2 separate regions of the Homo sapiens genome follow, and region 1 is linked to region 2. The links are contacts of gene promoters, found by promoter capture Hi-C in human tissues and cell types (Jung and others, 2019). All regions are on one chromosome and are shown on one strand. Each heading gives the region's core, a stretch centred on a gene start or on the middle of the fragment in contact. The rest is flanking DNA. Distances are from core to core; before and after follow the strand shown. Region 1 has its middle 88 kb from the start of FAM136A. Region 2 holds the start of TGFA (transforming growth factor alpha).

What was found. The method cuts DNA at HindIII sites, captures the fragments that hold promoters and counts their contacts. A contact is called where the count stands out against the background at its distance.
Region 1: a fragment that was not itself captured here is called in contact with the fragment with the promoter of TGFA in region 2 in 1 of the 25 tissues and cell types used here (thymus).

Annotation. Positions count from the first base shown.
Region 1 is chr2:70,387,766-70,392,249 of GRCh38, reverse strand. No RefSeq gene overlaps it. Among named protein-coding and RNA genes, the nearest start is that of FAM136A, 88 kb to the right of the region's middle. The HindIII fragment of the contact is 6,530 bases long and covers 1-4,484 here.
Region 2 is chr2:70,551,817-70,556,772 of GRCh38, reverse strand. It overlaps TGFA (transforming growth factor alpha), which reads left to right and starts at 2,947. Exons shown (of 6, transcript NM_003236.4): 1 at 2,947-3,045. The coding sequence starts at 3,006. LOC124907824 (a long non-coding RNA gene) reads right to left here and starts at 4,065. Exons shown (of 2, transcript XR_007086906.1): 1 at 3,381-4,065. RefSeq lists a silencer at 2,817-2,886. The HindIII fragment of the contact is 16,400 bases long and covers 1-4,956 here.

The DNA of each region.
Region 1 (4,484 bases), core at 504-3,003, 160 kb after region 2:
TGCACTAGCCCTGGCTCCTTGCCTAGCATGCTTTAGCACTGACTCCTTATCTAGCATGCACTAGCCCTGACTCCTTGCCTAGCATGCACTAGCCCTGACTCCTTATGTAGCATGCACTAGCGCTGACCCCTTGTCTAGGATGCAGTAGCCCTGACCCCTTGTCTAGCATGCACTAGCCCTGACTCCTTGTCTAGCAGGTACTAGCTCTGACTCTTTGTCTAGCATGTACTAGCCCTGATTCCTTGTCTTGCATGTACTAGCTCTGACTCTTTGTCTAGCATGCACTAGCCCTGACTCCTTGTCTAGCATGCTGTAGCTCAGACTCTTCGTCTAGCATGTACTAGCCCTGACTCTTTGTCTAGCACGCTCTAGCCTTGACTCCTTGCCTAGCATACACTAGCCCTGACTCCTTGTCTAACATGTTCTCGCTCTCACTCCTCACCTAGTATTCACTAGCCCCCTCTCTGGGACCTGGTACATTCTACCTTAACCCTCTCCTGCTGGCTATAACCCTGCTTTGCCTCCCACACACATCTCTAGAACTAGGGCCTCACTCAGAACCTCCTATTGCCTCACCTCAGTCACTAGCCACAACTCTAAAGATGCTGGCATAACCTTGCCCAAACTGAAGGTCACTGTGTCCTCTAAGATTCTAACATCCAAATGCCACTACCTCTTGGTCCCTGTAGCCCTAGCTCACCCTCTAGCTGGCTCCTCCTCTGCTGATAGCCTGCTTGCTTCACACCTGAGGCACTGAAGGTAGCCTTTATCTTGTTTTACCTTCCACAGCAACTTTTGAATTGCCCCATTTCACAGATGAGAAAACTGAGCCCCAGAGATATTTGGTAATTTGCCCAATGTTCATGACTAATAACCTCCAGAGAACTTGGGGCCCCCTGACCTCTAATTCAGGTTCCACTCAGCTTCCTGTGTCACAGATCCAAACATCAGAAGAGCCAGCTCCCTAATTTGCACTTTGGATGGCAGTGAATTAAACTTTAAAGACTTGGCAGGTAGTGCTGTTCCTGACTCCCAGGCATTTGGCAGTGGTTGGTATATGTTTCCAGAGATACATTTCTACATGAAGGAAAAAAAGAGGGAACATATTTCTGTTTGACTAATAAACATCCAATCCCAAGGGCTCTACAAAATTTTAAGCCCTCAAATGGCACAGAGACCTGCCCAGTGAAAGACAAGGAAGTATTGAGTCGGGCAGAAACATCTGATTTTATTTGCAAAGGGGCCGTTTGGGATATAAGTGCTGTTAACATGATCCCAGGAGGAGGGAAACAGAATTTTCCAAGGCTCTCCCACAGTCAGTGAACTCTGTCTCTCAGAGGACATGGGGCCTTGGTGTCTGACCAGCCAGAAGCTTAGCCCACAAGTCTTGTGTGTGCACAGGTAGGCACAATAGAATCAGCCCTGGTGGCCTTGAAATGACATTCAACGTTATCAGGAGGAAAAGACTCCAACACATCAGTCTGAAAACAAGATGTCTCAGCCCTCATCACCATTGGAAATGACCTTGTTAATTAAATTGTTTATGTATATTCCATGGGGTCAAGGATGTTGCCTATTCACTGCTGGGTCCCCAGCTCCTAAAAGTGTCTGACATACAGCAGGAGATCAGTAAACATTCTTTGAGTGCACATATTATAGTTTCCATCTTGGACCTTCTTTGTTAGACACCAGCAAGACAAAAGGTACTGTGCTTTCATGGTCCTGGGGTGGGGTAAGCCAGGTCGCCAGCCCTAGTCTGCTGCCCAGGGGTCAGAGGTTATTGCCTGGTATGACCAGGATAGGGGAGGTCAAGGGCATCTATCCTAGTTATACCTTTGTTTATTTGTTTTAAATAACAAGTATTATCATGAATTTCTTTGCCAAAAGGCCCATCTCATTAAACCTACCAAATATCCTCCCTATCCAAAACTTAGTTGTAATTAATAATGATTACTATTGGCTATCATTTACTGATTGATCACCATGTGCTATGTATATATTATCTTATCAAGTTCTTAAAGCATCTCAGATTTGTATTATCCCTATTTTACTGATGAAGAAACTGAGGCTTGTAGAAGCTAAGCAATTTGGTCTAGGTTATACAGCTGTTAAGCAAGGGATACAAGCTGTGGACTTGAACCAAGTCTATTCAAAGCCCCTGACCTTCGCCACTATGCTATACTGCCTCTCACAAGGTCATAAAATTAGTAAATTGCTTGTTTTTTTCTCTTAAGTCAAAATTTCACAAGGAAAACCATCCAGCCCAGATTCTCCTATCAGACTTGGATTATTCAGTTACCTCCTGGAAAGCAGCAAAACTGCCTTTCTGAGCTGACTGGGTCACTGAGGTCATCTCTCCCTGACATGCTATCAGAGTCAGATCAGAACAACTGAAGTGGAGACCAGGCATGGCAGCCTTTACCTGCCACGAATGATATAGATGGTGGCAGCATCACAAAAGGAAATCAACTTGGGCTTTCATTCAACTTGCGGTCTCCCCTCTGTGGGTCTTTCCTACCTTTCACCTGTCTTGGGAAGAAGTAGGCATGGGTGAATTAGTTTACAGAAGTGTGCCAGAGCTCTGGGCACAAGGTGCCACTTCCTTAGGTCATGTGCATCCTCCACCTAGGAAAGACCAAAGCTCACCCAGAATCCCTCCTGATATTTTCAATAATAAAGGTTATGGTGGGTTCCTGGTATCCTCCCAGGAGGTGGTTCTCCCAAGGGTGTTAAAAAATATATATATCAGTTCTCCCTTGTTAAATGTGTGGTTTCCTATAATAGCTTGACATGGGCCATTACTCCATCCAGCACCACTCTATCTTCTTGAACCCTCAACCTCACCAGCTTACCTATTACATTAACTCCCAAGACAATGTCATCTCTATCCTCTTGGAAGGGAATGAGGCCTAGGACTCCATCTGAAGAGGGGTCACAGTTCTGACTGACTCAGGAAGGATGGATGTCTACCAGTCTCCATTTGCTAGAGAAGGGTTCGGTAGGCATCCAAAATTCTACCCTCTCAGAAGAGCCACCCCACACCATTTCCAGTGGCTGCCTCGGGGAAGGCCATGCAATAGTCCTCAGCTTTCCATCAGAGCTGGCAGTCCAAAATCAATCTCTCATCTGTGCCACTGGCAGCGCCCTCCATTGTGGGTGCCAAGAAAGTGGTACTTAAGCTGGGGGGTCAAGCAGAAAGGAAAAGATACATAACTGCAGCTGCACCGTGTCATGACGTCAGGGTCTAGAAACTGAAGAAGGCACGGGAGGGAGAAAGAAAAGGGATGTTTGTTGGGAAACCATCTCACACAGTCCAAATTAAACAGGCTGTTTGCTCAAGTCTACTTTCCATTTCTGCCCCTCTCTCTACTAATTATTACCTCTCCTAAAACCTTTCTCCCTTAACCCAATGTCCCACTTCTAAAAGAGTCTAAGGAATTCTTCCTGATCCTTTAAGAGCCTGAATTGCTGCATAAACTTAGTATCACTGGTCCCATTTTAAAATGCCAAGAACAAAGCAAGGCCCATGTCCTCTCCTTGAAGTCTTTCTTGAAAATTGCAGCCATCTCTGATCTCTCTCCCACCTCACCAGTCTTGAAATTTACTGACTGTATCATCCATTTGAGCACTTGAGCCTCTGTTCAGCCCAACAGAGGCCATGGCTTTTTTGTCTTGACTATTCTCAGACTATTTCATGTAAGTATCTTGTCTTCCTGGGAAAACTGTAAGCTCCCTGGAGTCTAGGACTGGGTCATGTAGTTCTTTAGTATATGACACTGTGTCATATATAGTGTTCTGTATATGGCTCTGAATACACAGGAAATATTTTTTATGAAACTGCAATGAGCTGAACAGAATCAAAGGGAGGCATATGACAAAAGATGAAATCACTGGGCACTCATCAGGAAAATATTTAGTGGCCTCCAATTTCAGGTGAGCAATGTTTAGGATGGGGCCACAGTATAAGCCAGAATAACACATGGGCCAGTACCTGTTGCAATAGGTAAGCTGACAGAGTGCTGTGAGGCTTTGGATTGAGCAGTCTGCACATGCAGAGGGAAGAGGAAGGAAGATCCATACTTTATTTGGACTGAGACTCAACACCAAACCATAGTCCAAGCGAGGCCACCCAAATGGCAATGCTTCCCTAGAACAGGTGCCAAGTTCACCAGATTAGCTGTTGATTTGTCCATTTTAGCACTATTCTACATCTCCATGGTCATCCAGTTTTCAAAGGACACCTGATTTTACCTCAACCACTACCTTTGTTGAAACAAAAAATAACTCATCAACTTACCCAGTCAAACAATATAAGTCAGAGGTAGCCTTGGGAATTTCACTGACAGCTCTAGAATTCCAGGTCTACTCCCTGCGGTTGGAAGTAGGCGTCCTTGTTCTCTCACTGGCACGTTTGAACTCTAAAAGGGCCTTTTTTCTAATGGCCTCCCGTGCAGATGTTAGCAAGAATGAACCTTCGGCCAGGC
Region 2 (4,956 bases), core at 1,698-4,197:
CACATCAACCCAATGAGTTAAGCATTATCCTTATTGAAAATGTGGAAACCGAGGCAGTATAGCAGAGAAGCCAGCACATAAGCCTCAGAACCAGCTTGTTCTGCTTTCAAAATCAAGCTCTGCCCTTTATTGGCTGTGTAATTCTGGGTAAGTTACTAAATTCACTCAGTCTTGATTCTTCTCTTATAAAAGGGGATGGGATCTATCTCATAAGATTATTGTGAGGATTAAATGAGATATATAAAATACAAAAGATAGAGCATCAACAATTTAGGATATTAGGTTTCCTCTATGACTAAACGTTTAAAAATCATTTCAATTCAGTTTACCAAAAAAATGATCTTTAAGTTAAAAAAAAAAAAAAAAACACCCAGCCCCTGATGACCTGTTTGACTTGAATGAATTGGAGGGTTATAAAACCACAGATATGGACCAGCTTTTGAAAATCTTGGAGGGAGAATTAATGATTTTCAAGCATTAGAATGTACTTTGATTTGGATACTCTTTAGTTTGTAAGATGGCAAGTTATCTCTTTTTTTCTTTTTTTTTTTTTTTTTTTTTTTTTGAGACGGAGTCTCGCTCTGTCGCCCAGGCTGGAGTGCAGTGGCGGGATCTCGGCTCACTGCAAGCTCCGCCTCCCGGGTTCACGCCATTCTCCTGCCTCAGCCTCCCAAGTAGCTGGGACTACAGGCGCCCGCCACTACGCCCGGCTAATTTTTTTTGTATTTTTAGTAGAGACGGGGTTTCACCGTTTTAGCCGGGATGGTCTCGATCTCCTGACCTCGTGATCCGCCCGCCTCGGCCTCCCAAAGTGCTGGGATTACAGGCGTGAGCCACCGCGCCCGGCCATCTCTTTTTTTCTTTTTTTTTTTTTTTTGAGACAGAGTCTTGTTCTGTCATCCAGGCTGGAGTGCAGTGGCACAATCTTGGCTCACTGCAACCTCTGCCTCCCAGGTTCAAGTGATTCTCGTGCCTCAGCCTCCCAAGTAGCTGGGACTACAGACGCACGCCACCATGTCTGGCTAATTTTTTGTATGTTTAGTAGAAATGGGGGGTTTTACCATGTTGCCCAGGCTGGTCTCGAACTCCTGAGCTCAAGCAATCCACCCACCTCAGCCTCCCAAAGTGATGGTATTACAGGTGTGAGCCACCATGCCTGGCCTGCAAGTTACCTCTTGATTTAAAATATTTTCCAATCATGAAGGAAATTGACTTGATTCTGCTACTTCCCTCCACCTCTGACTTTGGGGGTAGGGGACAGATAAGCAGAAACTGCTGAACATGACCCTCAGCCGGCTGGGCAGCCATCCCTCAGCCACAGTGAGCTTGATTTGCGTGTTCCAGTAGGAAGCAAGGAGTCAGGTCCTTCTCTAGTCCTGGGGAACAGGAGAAGGGTGGGGGAACCCCTGATTCCTCCCCTTCTGTAGCCAAAGCAGACTAGTTTAGGGAGGAGACAGGGAAACCACCAGAGCAGGTCAAGATCAACCTGAAGGAAGTGGGAGTCAGGGACAACCTACTAAAGGAAGTGCATGTGTGCCTTGTACATGCATGGGGTGGACCAAGGAAAAGATTTACCCTAAAAGAACAAAGTATGCTCCGACAAATCTATTGAAAGGAATGATTTACACTGGTGCTTCCTGCCCAAATGTTGAGACCAATGGCCTGGTGCTTCCTTCTTGAAACTAGGTTGCTCTACTTACATGAAACAAACTGGGCAGAGGTCAACCGTGAGAGCCTGAGCCTCCCCAAGTAAACAGCAAAAGATTCCCCAGGCCCAACAGCCCCCACCCCCACCTTCAAGGAAAGTGGATCTACCCGGAGCACGTAGGCCAGAGGAGGCAGGAGAAGAGGGTCAGTCCGTGAGCTCCGGGTACCTGGAGAACATGAATCTCCCGGGTGTACTGTCCCCATGAGGGTCACCGAGGAACCTATGGATCTTCCACTCTTCGCCCAGAATGTCTTCCCTCTATCCCCTCCACCTCCCCAAATTCCAGCACCAGGGGCCACCTCAGAGCCACAAATCCTGAAAGGACCACCCAGGTGACTCGGGCCCACACACCCCTCTTTCGGGGTACACTTGGTGGCAGGCTAGCAGGCTTTTGGCCTCAGCTGGTGGTGCCATATAACCAGATTCGTCACAGAGACCCATTTTTTATCAGTCCCAGGCCAGAAGTACGAAGACTGATCTTAACGATGTGGCCTGCCTGGGAGGTAAGGCGGCAGGCGTTGCCAGAATTGATGGGAACTGTGGCACAGGTGGGAAACCTGGTTTAACAAATTCTTCATTGATTCAGGGGACCACTTTCCTTGAGCCAAGTCTTGGCAAGCGGCCGGCGAAACTCACAGGTCCCTTTCCTGGCTGCGTCCCCAGCCTCCAGCCTTCCCCGCCCCAGAGATGCCCCAGGAGCGGCCCCTCGGTGTAGGTAACGGGTGCCCGGGCGGCTCCGCTCCGCCGCCTAGAGCCTGGAAGCCGCCACTGCGGCCCAGGACAATCCGGCTACGCGGCCGGCGCCGACCCCGCACGCTGGAGTCCGCTGCCGCACGGCGCTGGCAGTCGGGGGTGGTGTCTGAAGTCAGGCGCTTCCTGCCTTTTCGTCGGCCCGGGTGCCCGGCTCGCGCCGCCAGGCTCTGGGATCCCAGGTCGCCCCGCCCAGCAGCCCGCGCCCTGCTCGGTGCGCTCAGCGTCCCCGCCCCTTACCCCAAACCCCCACCCTCTGTGCCCTCAGGGGGGCACCCCCATCGGGGCGGGAGGGGGGGGTCAGCTGTGCCCCGGTCGCCGAGTGGCGAGGAGGTGACGGTAGCCGCCTTCCTATTTCCGCCCGGCGGGCAGCGCTGCGGGGCGAGTGCCAGCAGAGAGGCGCTCGGTCCTCCCTCCGCCCTCCCGCGCCGGGGGCAGGCCCTGCCTAGTCTGCGTCTTTTTCCCCCGCACCGCGGCGCCGCTCCGCCACTCGGGCACCGCAGGTAGGGCAGGAGGCTGGAGAGCCTGCTGCCCGCCCGCCCGTAAAATGGTCCCCTCGGCTGGACAGCTCGCCCTGTTCGCTCTGGGTACGTACGCCGGCTGCGGCGCCCCCTGCGCCGCGCGACACCCTGCTTCCCCCGGTCCCCGCCGAGTTCCCCTTTCCGGGGGTTTCTGCGCCCGCCTGGGAGAGTGGAGAGAAGCGAGTAGTCTCAATGGGTTGGCGCCTGGGAGGCAAGGGGAGTCATTAAGAATGACAAAGAGGGGACTGTCCGGTCGAGCGCCGAGGCTTCCCCGGGAAAGTGGCTGCCTGGGCCGTGCGTGAGAACACCTGGGAAGGGGAAGCGGAGTGTGAACGGGCTTGAACTTTAATCCGCCGCAGCTGTGTGTCTGCTCAGACACATGCCTACACCTACCTGCTTACCTGGCTGCCTCCAAGCCCGGCTCAGCCGGCGTCGCTGGCGTGTAGACTGGGCCGCCTCGGAACGGGGGCCGGCGTCTAACCCTCTGGCCGGGTCTTGCCTGCGCCCCTTTGGCACCCCCTGCCCACCTCTAAGCCCCAGCGACGAGCAGAGATGTTCAAGATCGGCAGAGGCGCCCTCGATCTCTTTTCAGAGCTCTTGAGCTTTGGGGGTAGGTTTTGGATTTTTGGGCGGATTAATGGTTCCTTTAATTAACTTCCCTGGGAGAAGTGGTTTCGGTGTCCGCCGAGGGCAGGAGCGAAACCCTAGACCGAGTGTTGCCAGTTTCCTTTGAGTATGTCCTTGGAAATGAAGGAGGGATGGGAAAGGTGAGGGGAAGTTAAACCCCTCTCCCGGGTCGGGTCTGCGGAGCGGTGCGTTTTTTGGCGGTGAAGTTCAAGGGTCTGTCTGGACGCGGTGAGGGCGCAGCGCCGCGCGCCTCCTGGCCAATTCTTGCCCCTTGTGCTGGTGGGTCTCTCTGGTGTTGAGATAGCTGATCAATAGCGCAGGTGTCCTGGTTATTGCTAGTCTTCCGTGAAGTGAATTGTTCGTTCGATATGCCCCGAGTTTAACCCGTATAGCATGCGGCTCGCTGCAGGGTGGTTAGAGTCTGTGGAAAGCCATGGAACTCCTCCCCAGAAATGCCCAGAGCCGCAGCCTCACCCAGCTCCGTGTACAACTACAGGGGGTTCGCGGCCCCGCCTGCAAGCCTGCCCTAGAAACGCTGATTAAAAACCGCAGCAGAAGGGGAGGCATCCTGTAAGAGAAATACAAGGCAGTCTTGGAACCGGATGCTCCCAGCTACACCCTTACCTGAAACTCACCAGCAGGTAACATGGGTATGGGAGGCTTTTCCCCCACATTTTTGAAGAATTGCCTTTTTTGTGTGCATGTATTGACTGTTGCTCTGATTTAAATTTTAGAAAAAGCAATAAAACATTACCAATACAAGGGAAGCTTCCTGGATATAATTATCCCTTGTAATGTTTTTGCAAATAATAGTAGTAAGTAGTAGTAGTAATAACAGCTGATGCTATTCGAGCATTTTACTCTGTGTCAGACACAGTCCAAGTGCTTTACATTTATTCATGCAGTTTTCACACCAACCGGATAAAGAAGGTGTTAATATTATTCTCATTATATAGCAGAGGAAAGTAAAGCACACAGGGTCCACAGTAAGTAACTGGACCAGGATTGTCGAAGAACGTGGAAGGAATGTGAATATGAAAAGTCACCTAACTTGTGGTCATTATAGTCCCATCTCTCTTTTGGGACTTTGCCTTAAAGAGAGATTATGTGGAATACCCTGGAACTTGTTGTTAAATTGAGTTTCCTATTGAATTCCTGGGATCTCAAGGTGGTTATTCGGTAAAAATTAGAGGCAGGAAATGATGAAGATAAGCACATTTGAGTAAGTGTTTGAAAGCTGTCCCTACACCCCACACTCCCATCCCAGAATTCTCGCCCACAAAGACTGCATTCATTCATCATGTAATTTTTCTCTTTTGCCTGAATGTTCTTTTCAGCTTGATCTTTGTT